Linked DNA regions of Homo sapiens: all the other regions are linked to region 1. The links are contacts of gene promoters, found by promoter capture Hi-C in human tissues and cell types (Jung and others, 2019). All regions are on one chromosome and are shown on one strand. Each heading gives the region's core, a stretch centred on a gene start or on the middle of the fragment in contact. The rest is flanking DNA. Distances are from core to core; before and after follow the strand shown.

Region 1 (4,144 bases), core at 1-2,500:
ATATATAAAATCACTCCACCCCTTTCCGTTCACCTGCAGGCTTGCTCTGTCTCTCAGGCTGGAATGCAGTGGCAAGATCCTTGCTCACTGCAGCCTTGACCTCTTGGGCTCAATTGATCCTCCCACCTCAGCCTTCCAAGTATCTGGGACTATAGTAGTCCGACACGGCGGCTGGGATTCAGGCTGGCTGGGTCATTTTGCTTTTTTTTTCTTTTTTTTTTTTTTGAGATGGAGTCTCCCTCTGTCGCCCAGGCTGGAGTGCAGTGGCATGATCTCAGCTCACAGCAACCTCTGTGTTTTGGGTTCAAGCAATTCTGCCTCAGCCTCTTGAGTAGCTGAGTAGCTGGGACTACAGGTGTGTACCACCATGCCCAGCTAATTTTTGTATTTTTAGTAGAGACAGGATTTCACCATGTTGACCAGGCTGGTCTTGAACTCCTGACCTCAGGTGATCTGTCTGCCTCAGTCTCCCAAAGTGTTGGGATTACAGGCTTGAGCCACCGCACACCGCCAAGGGTCATTTGCTAATACGATCTTTGGATACCTCTTCTCCTGGGAGGAGGTCTAGTCTGGTGCATCCTGTCCCATGAAGTCTGGTTTAATCTCTTGGAATTCAGTTGGACGCTCAATTTTGGAAGGTCTCCATGTCTGCAGGCAAGGGCATGTAGCCTGTGTTTAAATTCAACACCCAGACTAGGGTGGGGATGGATTGGCATGTTGATCTCATTTTGAGAGTATTAGTACAGCTGAAGAGATTTTGCCAGTTGGAGGTTGGAGCCTGAATTCTTTCTGTCGGGCGGAGAGCACTTTAAGGCATTGTTCCACCTCCGCTGGCCCTATTTCTTTTTTCTTTTCCTTTCTTTTTTTTTTTTTGAGACGTGAGATGGAGTCTCGCTCATTGCCCAGGCTGGAGTGCAGTGGCACGATCTTGGCTCACTGAAGCCTCCGTCTCCCGGGTTCAAGCGATTCTCCTGCCTCAGCCTCCCAAGTAGCTGGGATTACAGGCACGTGCCACCATGACCAGCTAATTTTTGTATTTTTAGTAGAGACGGGGTTTCCCCATGTTGGCCAGGCTGGTCTTGAACTCCTGTCCTCCCAAAGTGCTGGGATTACAGGCATGAGCCACCGTGCCCAGCCAATTTTTGTTGTTTTAATTTATTTTCATCCTCTGACATTTGGATAATGTTTTCCATGCTTTCTATTTCAAAGTTAAGGTAAAAAATTTTTACTTGCATGAACTTAAAAAAAATTCCATTGGAAACTGATTGGGCAGATTTGAAAATTAAGCTTTCACAATCACAATTTTTATGAGAGTTCATTCAGTTTTGGAGAAGTCGAGGAAAGAATTGGGAATTGAAATTTTGATGTGGCCTGATAGGATCAGGTGGGGCTTTTGATAGGAAGTGAGTGTTTTGGGTTGTTTCTTGACTGGATTATGATGCGGAATACAGCGGGTAGAGGGCCGATTAAGTTTTAGTCATTAGTGTAGCTTTTCAGTATACACGCCTTTTCATTTTCAGTCCCTTTCAGAAGAAAAGACCACAGGCATCAGAAATCAATCAACTTGCTAATTTATGCCAGATTCCACTGGAGGTAAGCTGATTTTTTTTTCTCCCTGAAAACCAAATGTCTGGGTTTTGTTTGTTTGTTTGTTTTGCATTTTTACTTAGTTTCATTTTTCTACCTCTCCTATTTGCTGGAATAAGCTAAATATTTTACATTGGTAGTTTAGATTTTTTTTTTAGTTGTCATATTGAAAAGTGATGCTCCCAGGACACTCAAAATTATTTTCGTGGCCCTCCAGTCCTTAGCATTACTGCTGGCCCACAGCTACTTCTAAAAACTTTTTATTGACAAATAATAATTGTGTTTATTTATGGGGTACAATGTGATGTTTTGATACATGTTTACATTGGGGGGATGATTAAATCAAGCTAATTAATCTATTTTTGTGGTGAAAGCATTTACAATTTACTGTTTTTTAAAATTATATATATTTTTTGTGCTAGAATTGGACTCCTCAAACTTTAATAAACATTAAAGTTGTGCCCGGCAAGTTTATTCTTTTTAAAAACATATTTACTTATTTAAAACTTTATTCCTGGCTGGTGTGGTGGCTCATGCATGTAATCCCAGGATTTGGGGAGGCTGAGGGAGGAGGATTGCTTGAGCCTAGGAGTTTGAGACCAGTTTAGGTGACATAGCAAGATCCCTTCTTTACAAAAAATAAAAAGTTAGCTGATGTGGTAGCATGCACCCATAGTCTTAACTATTCAGGAGGCCAAGGTAGGAGGATTGCTTGAGCCAGGGATTTTTAAACTGCTGTGAGCCGGGATCACATCACTGCACTCCAGCCTGGGTGACAGAATGAGACCCTGCCTCAATAAAATAAAATAAAAAATAAAAACTTTATTACTTAAACATTGAGACAGAGGTTTCACTATGTTGCACAGGCTGGTCTCAAACTCCTGGGCTTGGCTGGATGTGGTGGTTCACGCCTATAATCCCAGCACTTTGGGAGGCTGAGGCCGGCGGATCACTTGAGATCAGCAGCTCGAGACCAGCCTGAACAACATGGTAAAACCTTGTCTCTACTAAAAATGCAAAAATTAGCTGGGCATGGTGGTGCATGCCTGTAATCCCAGCTACACGGGAGGCTGAGGCAGGGGAATCCCTTGAACCCGGGAGGCAGAGGTTGCAGTGAGCCGAGACTGTGCCACTGCACTCCAGCCTGGGCGACAGAGCAAGACTTGGTCTTAAAAAAAAAAAAAAAAAAGTAACTCCTGGGCTCAACTGATCCTCCCACCTTGGCTTTCCAAAGTGCTGGGATTATAGGTGTGAGCTGCCACGCGTGGCCAAAATCTACGCTTTTGGCAAAGAATTACCAATGATCCAGCTGTCCCGCTTATGGCAAAGCTGAAGGGCTATCTGCATCCCATGTTCACTGCGGCGTTATTCGTCACGACCACAGCTGCTTCAGGATTCATGGTTTCTGCTCTCGGCCTTCCTTACTGTGCTCTAGCTGATCTGATGCTTGCCTCATTGTCTTTGCACAGGCTTGTTTTAAAGGTGCTGTTGAACTGCTGTTTAGCTTTCTCTCTCTCTCTTTTTTTTTTTTTTTGGGACGGAGTCTCGCTCTGTCGCCCAGGCTGGAGTGCGGTGGCGCGATCTCGGCTCACTGCAAGCTCCGCCTCCCGGGTTCCCGCCATTCTCCTGCCTCAGCCTCCCGAGTAGCTGGGACTACAGGCGCCCGCCACCACGCCTGGCTAATTTTGTTTTTGTATTTTTAGTAGAGACAGGGTTTCACCGTGTTGGCCAGGATGGTCTTGATCTCCTGACCTCGTGATCCGCCTGCCTCGGCCTCCCAAAGTGCTGGCATTACAGGCATGAGTCACCGCGCCCAGCCAATTTTGTATTTTTAGTAGAGACGGGGTTTCACCATGTTGGACAGGCTGGTCTCGAACTCCTGACCTCTGGTGATCTGCCTGCTTCAGCCTCCCAAAGTGCTGGGATTACAGGCGTGAGCCACCGTGCCTGGCTTGCACTTTCTTCTTTGAGACCCAGTCTCAATAAATAAACAAACACAAAAAAACCAAAACAAAAAAAAAAAAGACCTTCAGAAGGGGATCACTGAGGTACAAGTCAGGGCTTTTCTGAGTGGGTTAGGGAGAGCTTTTATCCAGGGTGTGGAGCATTCTATGCTGGATGATCCCCAACTTCCAAAGCGAATTCTGCTATTTCATGGTTCTTTTCCATTTTCCCTCAGATCTGCCTTCCCAAGACTTTACTGACTGGTGAAGAACAGGAAATGAACAATTCCCAGGTGAGCTTTTCAAAAAAATCTAAATCTCATAATGAATAAACGTATGACCCACGTTCCTCTTGCTCAGAATTAACTGTGCTAACCTTTTGGCATATTTTCCTCCTTCCTTCCATACTTCTATTAAAAGGTAACACACACTCTACTTTCTGCTTTCCTATTAAAGCTGAAACATTTCAAGTAAAGCTCAAGGCTGGGCATGGTGGCTCACACCTGTAATTCAGCAATCTAGGAGGCCAAGGCAGGCGGATCGCTTGAGTTCAGGAGTTTGAAACCAGCCTGGGCAACATGGCGAGATCCCGTCTCTACAAAAAATTAGCTGGG
Region 2 (4,144 bases), core at 1,130-3,629, 740 kb before region 1:
GTAGCTGGGACTACAGGCACCCGCCACCACGCCCAGCTAATTTTTTGTATTTTTAGTAGAGACAGGATTTCACCGTGTTAGCCAGGATGGTCTCGATCTCCTGACCTTGTGATCCACCCACCTCAGCCTCCCAAAGTGCTGGGATTACAGGCGTGAGCCACCGCGCCTGGCCCCTATTTCTTGATTATATCCTAAACAAAGGGTGGATTATTCATGCCTCCTTTTTTTAGACCATATAGGATAACTTCCTGATGTTGCCATGGCATTTGTAAACTGTCATGGCACTGATGGGAGTGTTGCAGTGAGGACGACCAGAGGTCACTCTCATGGCCATCTTGGTTTTGGTGGGTTTTAGCCGGCTTCTTTACTGCAAACTGTTTTATCAGCAACGTCTTTATGGCCTGTATCTTGTGCTGACCTCCTATCTCATCCTGTGACTTAGAATGTCTTCACTGTCTGGGAATGCAGCTCAGCCTCATTTTATCCAACCCCTATTCAAGACGGAGTTGCTCTGTTAAACACTTCTGACAGCTGTGGTTTCTTCCCACAAAGAGGTTGCAGATGGGGTTAGGTTCTTGTTCTGCCAGCTTGGCTCCTTCCCAATTCCTGTTAACTTACTGATTTATTAGGGCCCCATAGATTAGAAATTATCATTTAGGAGTCATGCAGCCAGGGGCCACAAGACTGTAAACATCCCCAGTTGTTCCTAGGGATGGTATCACCATTGCAAAAGCTAAGATTGGTGCTGGAGATATTTTTCAGACCCTGAACTTGATGGATCTGATGGCACCACTCAGATGGGTAAACTGGCTTATCTGGTCTTGTGCCTCCCTCTCCCCCAGAACCCACTCAGCACAAGAGAACAACTTTGACTCCCTATGATTTCATCTCCAACCCAACCAATCAGCATTCCCCAATTCATGGCCCCCTATCTACCAAATTATCCTTAAAAAACCCCAGTCTCAGGAGGCGGAGGTTGCAGTGAGCTGAGATCGTGACATTGCACTTCAGCCTGGGCAACAGGAGCAAAATTCTGTCTCAGAAAACAAACAAACAAATAAACAACAACAACAACAAAAAACCCCAGTCTCGCAATTTTCAGGGAGACTGATTTGAGTAATACTAGTAAGACTCCAGTATGCTGTTCATCCAACTCTGTGTGAATAAAACTCTTTTTCTTTTGCAATTTCCCTGTCCTGATAAATTGGCTTTATCTGGGCAGTAGGAAAAATGAACCCTCTGGGTGTTTACACGTTCATTTTAACAATACAATAATGGTTATTAATCTTTGCATTAATCTTTGCTTCCAGTGGAAGAATTTTGCATCTGAAGGACCATCTGAAATGATAGGTGAATTTGGATCTGTAGCCTTTGGGAACATCTACACTAACTCTGAAATAATATTTTTCCATACACTAGGGTAATCAGTTACAGCCAATAACCCCAAGAAATCTCAATGTGAGTTCTAAGGAGAGGCAGGATGATCCTCTGCCTAGGAGAAAGATCTGCAATCTTTTATTTATTTTTTTATTTTTATTTTTATTTTTTTTTCCAACATGGAGTCTTGCTGTGTCACCCAGGCTGGAGTGCAGTGGCAGGATCTCACTCACCGCAACCTCTGACTCCCATGTACAAGAGATTCTCCTGCCTCGGCCTCCCCAGTAGCTGGGATTACAGGCGCATGTCACCATGTGGGTTAATTTTTGTATTTTTAGTAGAGGCGGGGTTTCACCATGTTGGCCAGGCCAGTCTTGAACTCCTGACCTCAGGTGTTCCACCTGCCTCGGCCTCCCAAAGTGCTGGGATTACGGGCGTGAGCCGCCCGCACCTGGCCCTTATTTTTATTTTTTAGATAAGAGGTCTCGTTCTGTTGCCCAGGCTGGAATGCAGTGGTACGATCTCGGCTTACAGCAGCTTCGAACTCCTGAGCTCAAGCGATTCTCCCTCCTCAGGCTCCCTAACCCTAACCCCAACCTTAGGGCAGCTGGGACCACAGGCCCGCCCGACCACACTCCGCTAATATTTTTTATTTTTTGTAGAGACAGGATTTTGCTTTGTTGCTCAGGCTAATTTCTAACTCCTGACCTCAAATGATCCTTGTGACTTGGCCTCCCAAACTGGTGGAATTACAGGCGGGAGCCACCATACCAGTCAGGACGCACATCTTAAGGATACTCCCGAGGTGAAGCTGGGCTTTTCCTGCAGAAGCGCCTCTGGGAATTGCGCCCTTTACCCTCCTTGTTGCCTAGGGAACTACATTACCCAGAAAACTCAGCCTCGAATGATAGCGTAGAAGACCTCTGAGGGCTCAGAATAAAGGCGTTTCCTGTGTGCACGTGACAATGGGTCCGGACTTCCGGCGCCCTCTGGTGGCGGCCATTTTGATTGGTGTTGGATTTATTTGTAGGAGAGGCTCCTGAGCGCTAGGTCCGCACTGTGGTGACTGAACCCAGAAGTCGGGGAGCAGTTGTCCTCCGCTGCACAGAGGCTACTCTGGAGCTCTGTGACGGCGCCCAGCGTGACCCACTCCTGGGCCAGGATACGGACCGTCGTGCCCATATCTCCTGGCTGGTCGCCCTATCCTCCCGACTCTGCTTAAAACCACGTGGTTCGATGGCTGCCGCGGCTACGCTGAGGCTCTCCGCTCAGGTAATTGTGGGGCCTTCTGTGTCCTCAGGTCACCTCATCGTCACCCAAAAGCAGCGAGGTAGCAGCGCCTGTTCACGGCTCTGCAGCCCGGACGCCGGCGTTGGGACACTGAGGCGCTTGCGGGAGGGGCCCCATTTCTGACACCCGTGGGATGCGGTGGGGAGACCGGCAGGTACAGGGACTGGCGCGGGCAAAGGCCTGGAAGTGAACTGAGCCAGAAGGATGGAATCTGGGGTCCACAGGTGCCTGTTGGGAGCAAATTATGAGGCGGAGCTCCTCCTGGAAGAGCAAGCAGGCTGGGGGCTATGAACTCACGTGAGGACCCTAGAAGGCATGGAGATTTTCGAAGAAAGGAGGGATGTCATGAGCATTGTAAGGGTAGAGATAATCAGGTCCATGCATGTTTGTGTCTTTGCACAGTGTCAGGTGATATTTGAGTCAACAAAAGCCATGAGCTAAATGGAGTTCGAAGGAGGCAATTCTCTTGTGATTCCAGTTCACTTGGTAGTTGGCCATGGGCACAGAGGCTGAAGACACTCCCCAAGTCAGTCAATATAGCAAACAATACACAATAGTATACTTAACATGTAAATGTTAAAGGTTAAACATAACACTGTTGTACCCGGGCGAGTTAGAAAAACGCCACACTTTGAGACGAATTAAGAGTCCTTTATTCAGCTGGCGGCCAAAGAGACGGCTAACGCTCAAAATTCTCTCGGCCCCGAGGAAGGGGCTTGATTAACTTTTATACTTTGGTTTAGGAAGGGGAGGGGAGCTTAAATGCAACAACTCTTCAGAAGTAAAAACATGCAAAAAATTAAAAGGATAAATGGTTACAGAGAAACAAACAATTTAAAAGACAAATGGTTACAAAAAGGCAAGGTACCAGGTGTGGCGCTCTAAATCCTTCATAAGAGTTAGATATGGGCACTACGCCAGACACAAACTCAAGGCTTTATGGTGTTATCTTTTGAGCAAAATCCTGGGAACTTCATACATGGTTTGTTCCCAGTCCCTTATCAGTTAATTGGACTCCTTTGATATGTTGAGAATCTGCTTACACAAGTTAACTCCTTGAGGAAAGGGGGGTGGGTAAGGAGTCCTTAATGTCTTGTAAATCAAGGGGGCCAGGTGGAGCTCGTCTGGCTTTCTCAGCTAAGCGAGAGTCTATTCATGTGGAAACGAGGCTAGGTGATTAAGAGAGCAAAAGGGAGAGTCTAAAAACAGGATTAGTGAAAACAAGGTTGGGCATTACAACACAAGGAACAAAATAATGCTTAGCATCAAGAGGAAAAAGATATAGGAGCAAACGTTATGGAACCAGTTTAGAGGGAGCAAGGAAGACAAAAGGCATCTTGGTCTGGGCCAGTTGGTGGGCAATTGGCCTGCAGTCTTACAAGGAAGAGTCTTTGAGGTGGCAGAGCCTTAGGCAGCAGATGCTGAGTTTTGAGCTGCTGAAGGCCTAATCTTTTACAGTTACAGAATACTCTGGTGA
Region 3 (4,144 bases), core at 648-3,147, 520 kb before region 1:
GAAGAAAAATCTTCAGTCACACCAGGCCTTTATACAGAGTTCACAACATCAAGCCCTTTTGGGTCAGAGCTGTTGTAACAAAAGACCATTCCCTACACCTGGGAGACCCCCATATCTCTGTAGTTAGGAATTTTCCTGAAATAGCTATGCCTACATACACATGTATACACACTCAAAGACACAAAATTATGTATACACACTCAAAGACACAAAATGTATACACACTCAAAGGCACAAAATTTTCCTTCCATTATGGAAGCTTACCTCCTTGGTTGACTGGGTAATCCCGGGCCGAACACTGAGCTGATGTGTGACTAGCTTTCCACACTGGGTTTATCTGATGTGCCTCCTAAGGCTGCTCCCTTTTATAGGGGCTGGGATCAGTGATTGATTTAAAGACGTGATTGGATAACACTTGTCTGTTGATTGAATTACTGATGGAATCTTCATCCAGCCCCAGCTCCATGTCAGTGATTGATTTAAAGACGTGATTGGATAACACTTGTCTGTTGATTGAATTACTGATGGAATCTTCATCCAGCCCCAGCTCCATGTCTCTAATACAGTGTTCTATACCATCACTGGTCCTGGGTCAACAGGTCATAAACAAACACATTAATATTTCTGCAGGCTAGGTGCAGTGGCTCACACCTGTAATCTCAGCACTTTGGGAGGCTGAGGCAGGCAGATCACCTGAGATCAGGAGTTCAAGACCAGCCTGGCCAACATGGTGAAACCCTTTCTCTACTAAAAATACAAAAATTAGCCGGGCATGGTGGTGGGCACCTGTAATCCCAGCTACTTGGGAGGCTGAGGCAGGAGAATTACTTGAACCTGGGAGGCAGAGGCTAGAGTGAGCCAAGATTGCGCCACTGCATTCCAGCCTGGGAGACAGAGCAAGACTCTGTGAATCCCTAGCCTGAGCAACAAAGCAAGACCCTGTCTCTACCAAAAATAATGTTAAAAATGTTAGCCAGGCATGGTGGCATGTCTGTGTAGCTTGTTTGAGCCAGGGAGTTCATGGCTACAGTGGATTATGACCGCCCTACTGAACTCTGGCCTGGGAAATGGAAGGAGACCAAGTCTCTAAAAAAAAAACAAAACAAAACGAACAAAAAAAAAACCATGCCTGTAATCCCAGCACTTTTGGAGGCCGAGGTGGGCGGATCACGAGGTCAAGAGTTCGAGACCAGCCTGGCCAATATGGTGAAACCCCATCTCTACTAAAAATGCAAAAATTAGCCAGGCGTAGTGGCGCGTGCCTGTAGTCCCAGCTATTCAGGAGGCTGAGCAGAAGAATTGTTTGAACCACAGAGGCGGAGGTTGCAGTGAGCTGAAATTGTGCCACTGCACTGCAGCCTGGGCGACAGAGGTAGACTGTCTCAAAAACCAACAAACAAACAAACACACACAAAAATACAAAATCTGCGGTAAAATGTAACAAGGTCCACATTAAATGAAAATATAAAGACAGGCTGGGTGTGGTGGCTCGCGCCTGTAATCCCAGCACTTTGGGAGGCCGAGGCAGGTGGATCATGAGGTCAGGAGTTTGAGACCAGCCTGACCAACATGGTTAAACCCGGTTTCTATTAAAAATACAAAAATTATCTGGGCGTGGTAGCATGCACCTGTAATCCCAGCTACTCAGGAGGCTGAGGCAGAAGAATTGTTTGAATCCAGGAGGCAGAGGTTGCAGTGAGCCGAGATTACGCCACGGCACTCCAGCCTGGACGACAGAGCGAGACTGTGTCTCAAAAAAAAAAAAAAAAAAAAGGAAAATATAAAGACAAACGTTAGTCTCACAAATTCTGATCAAGTTTTATTATAAATTACTCATAGAAACATGACAAACTTTTGCTCAAACTTTTAAGTTTTCAGAGATTTATGAATTACAAGGGTGGCAGAGGGCAAGGCTAATGCTGTGACTCCTGTGCCAATTCCAGGCTGGTGAAACAGAGGGGGCCCGGGACCCAGAGAAGGCATTCCTAATCCATCAAAAAGATGACAGGGGTTGAGACTAGGATTATATCAGTGGAAAGGGAGAAATTGGTGCATATTTTATATTGAGAAAGCATATGATGTTTGATAGACTTAACATGAGGCTTGAGAGAGATGGAGGAGTTAAAATGGTGAGAAGCGCCTGGTCACCTAGTGTGGTGGAAGCTGTGCCTTCTTCCCTGCACTCTCCCTCCCCACTTTCCACCCTCATACAGGCTGAGGCTTTGGTGGAGTTGAGAACGTATCGAAGGGGTGGGAGCTAATTACAGCCATGTGTTTCATCTGCTCCATCAGGCATGCAGCCTCTTGGGGCTTAGATTGTCCCCCTATCACTGTTGGGTACAGAGTTTGAATCTCCTGGTACTCCACTGATGAAATGTCTGCTTGACTTCCCCACATTAGGAATTATGTTCTGAATCCTCACATTATAAGACTGTGTACTAGTCCATTTCTCCAAGGAGTTTCATCCACATATACTCCATACAGAGAAGTATCCCTGCTCCCATCAAGAGCCAATTTTCCACTGGTGGTTTAGGTCCTGTCACCAACTATGTCATTAAACCAACTGTGACAGGAAAATTGGCTCTTGATGGAAGCAGGGATACTTCTCTGCTACAACAATGAAAAATGGGCTGGGCGCAGTGGCTCATGCCTGTAATCCCAGCACTTTGGGAGGCCGAGGCGGGTGGATCACCTGAGGTCAGGAGTTTGAGACCAGCCTGGCCAACATGATGAAACCTCGTCTCTACTAAAAAAATACAAAAATTAGCCAGGCATGGTGGCAGGCACCTGTAATCCCAAGTACTCGGGAGCCTGAGGCAGGAGAATCACTTGAACCTGGGAGGCCGAGGTTGCAGTGAGCCAAGATCGCACCACTGCTCTCCAGCCTGGGCGACAGAGTGAGACTCTGTCTCAAAAACAAACAAACAAACAAACAAAAAACAAACAAAAAAAAAACAATGAAAAATGTAGACAATGTGAGTACCACTGGAGGCCAGTTGTTAATTTGTGGTGGGTTGAAAGCATTTCCTGTCTGCTTCTGCAGTCTCAAGGAGTTCCTTGAGCTCTGTAAGGAGCTGTAAGGAAAAGGTTTGGGGAAAAGCTGGCAATTTCTGTTTGGAGGAGGTTATTGGATTTTTGAGTTCAGATATACAGCCAGCTGTTGGACATGCTGGTGTGTAACTCTGGGAGCAGTTAGACCTGAGGCACGATGATATCAGTAAGAGTAGTAATAGCATCAGGGATCATAATAACTAACCTTTAAGCAGTCAGGGCATATTTGACTCTGTTCTCAGTGCTTTCTGTATGTTAACCCATTTCCATCACAACAGTCCTGTAAAGTAGATCCTAAATAACTCCATTTTAACATCAAAATAACAGAGGCACAGAGAAGTTCAGTACCTTGGCCAGTGCTACATAGCCTGTAAGTGGCTGGGCTAGGATTTGATACCTGGCTCCAGAGTGGGACTCTGAATGCTACATTAAGAAGGCAAAGACACACAGCCACTGTGTAAAACCAGCAGCTTTCTAGGGAATGGGCTAATGGAGGAGTGAAGGGCATGAGCAGGAGGATTTATCCTTGGGGAAACACAGATGGTGGAGGAAATGACCTGGTGATACCCCAACTTAGGCATAGAATAAACAGGCACAAAACAATAAAAATAAATGTGAAATCCACATAGTAATTTAATCAAATAAGGATATTACAAAGACAACTATCAAATGCTTTTCTGATCAATTGGGAAGGCAGGTAGTGCTGCCTTTGGTAAAAATAGATGACCCGTTTACATCCAGCATCATCTCAACTTGTGTCTGGTGAGTATCCCCGCTCCAGTGTGAGTGAGGAAAATAACCTTTGTTTCCAAGAAGACAAAGCCAATCCGCCTCAGTATGTAGGAAACAGTGATTTCAATTAGAATAATAATAATAATAATAAAAACCTGGTAGGAAAATAAACAAAACTGTTAACTTTCTATTTTTTTCGAGACAAAGTCTTGCTCTGTCGCCCAGGCTGGAGTGCAGTGGCACGATCTTGGCTCACTGCAACTTCCGCACCCAGAGTAGCTGTGATTAAAGGCATGCGCCACCACACCCGGCTAATTTTTGTATTTTAGTAGAGACGGGGTTTCACCATGTTGGCCAGGAT

The links. The method cuts DNA at HindIII sites, captures the fragments that hold promoters and counts their contacts. A contact is called where the count stands out against the background at its distance.
Region 2: a contact is called between the fragment with the promoter of ZNF814 here and the fragment with the promoter of ZIM3 in region 1, in 2 of the 25 tissues and cell types used here (adrenal gland and stomach).
Region 3: a contact is called between the fragment with the promoter of ZSCAN4 here and the fragment with the promoter of ZIM3 in region 1, in 1 of the 25 tissues and cell types used here (hippocampus).

The regions. Positions count from the first base shown.
Region 1 is chr19:57,142,308-57,146,451 of GRCh38, reverse strand. It overlaps ZIM3 (zinc finger imprinted 3), which reads left to right and starts at 1,250. Exons shown (of 5, transcript NM_052882.1): 1 at 1,250-1,593; 2 at 3,767-3,823. The coding sequence starts at 3,809. The HindIII fragment of the contact is 26,155 bases long and covers 1-2,799 here.
Region 2 is chr19:57,887,272-57,891,415 of GRCh38, reverse strand. ZNF814 (zinc finger protein 814) reads left to right here and starts at 2,379. Exons shown (of 3, transcript NM_001144989.2): 1 at 2,379-2,649. The coding sequence starts at 2,614. RefSeq lists enhancers at 2,669-2,718, 2,392-2,934, 2,935-3,478, 3,503-4,144. The HindIII fragment of the contact is 24,676 bases long and covers 1-4,144 here.
Region 3 is chr19:57,666,688-57,670,831 of GRCh38, reverse strand. ZSCAN4 (zinc finger and SCAN domain containing 4) reads right to left here and starts at 1,897. Exons shown (of 5, transcript NM_152677.4): 1 at 1,629-1,897; 2 at 265-587. The HindIII fragment of the contact is 8,369 bases long and covers 1-4,144 here.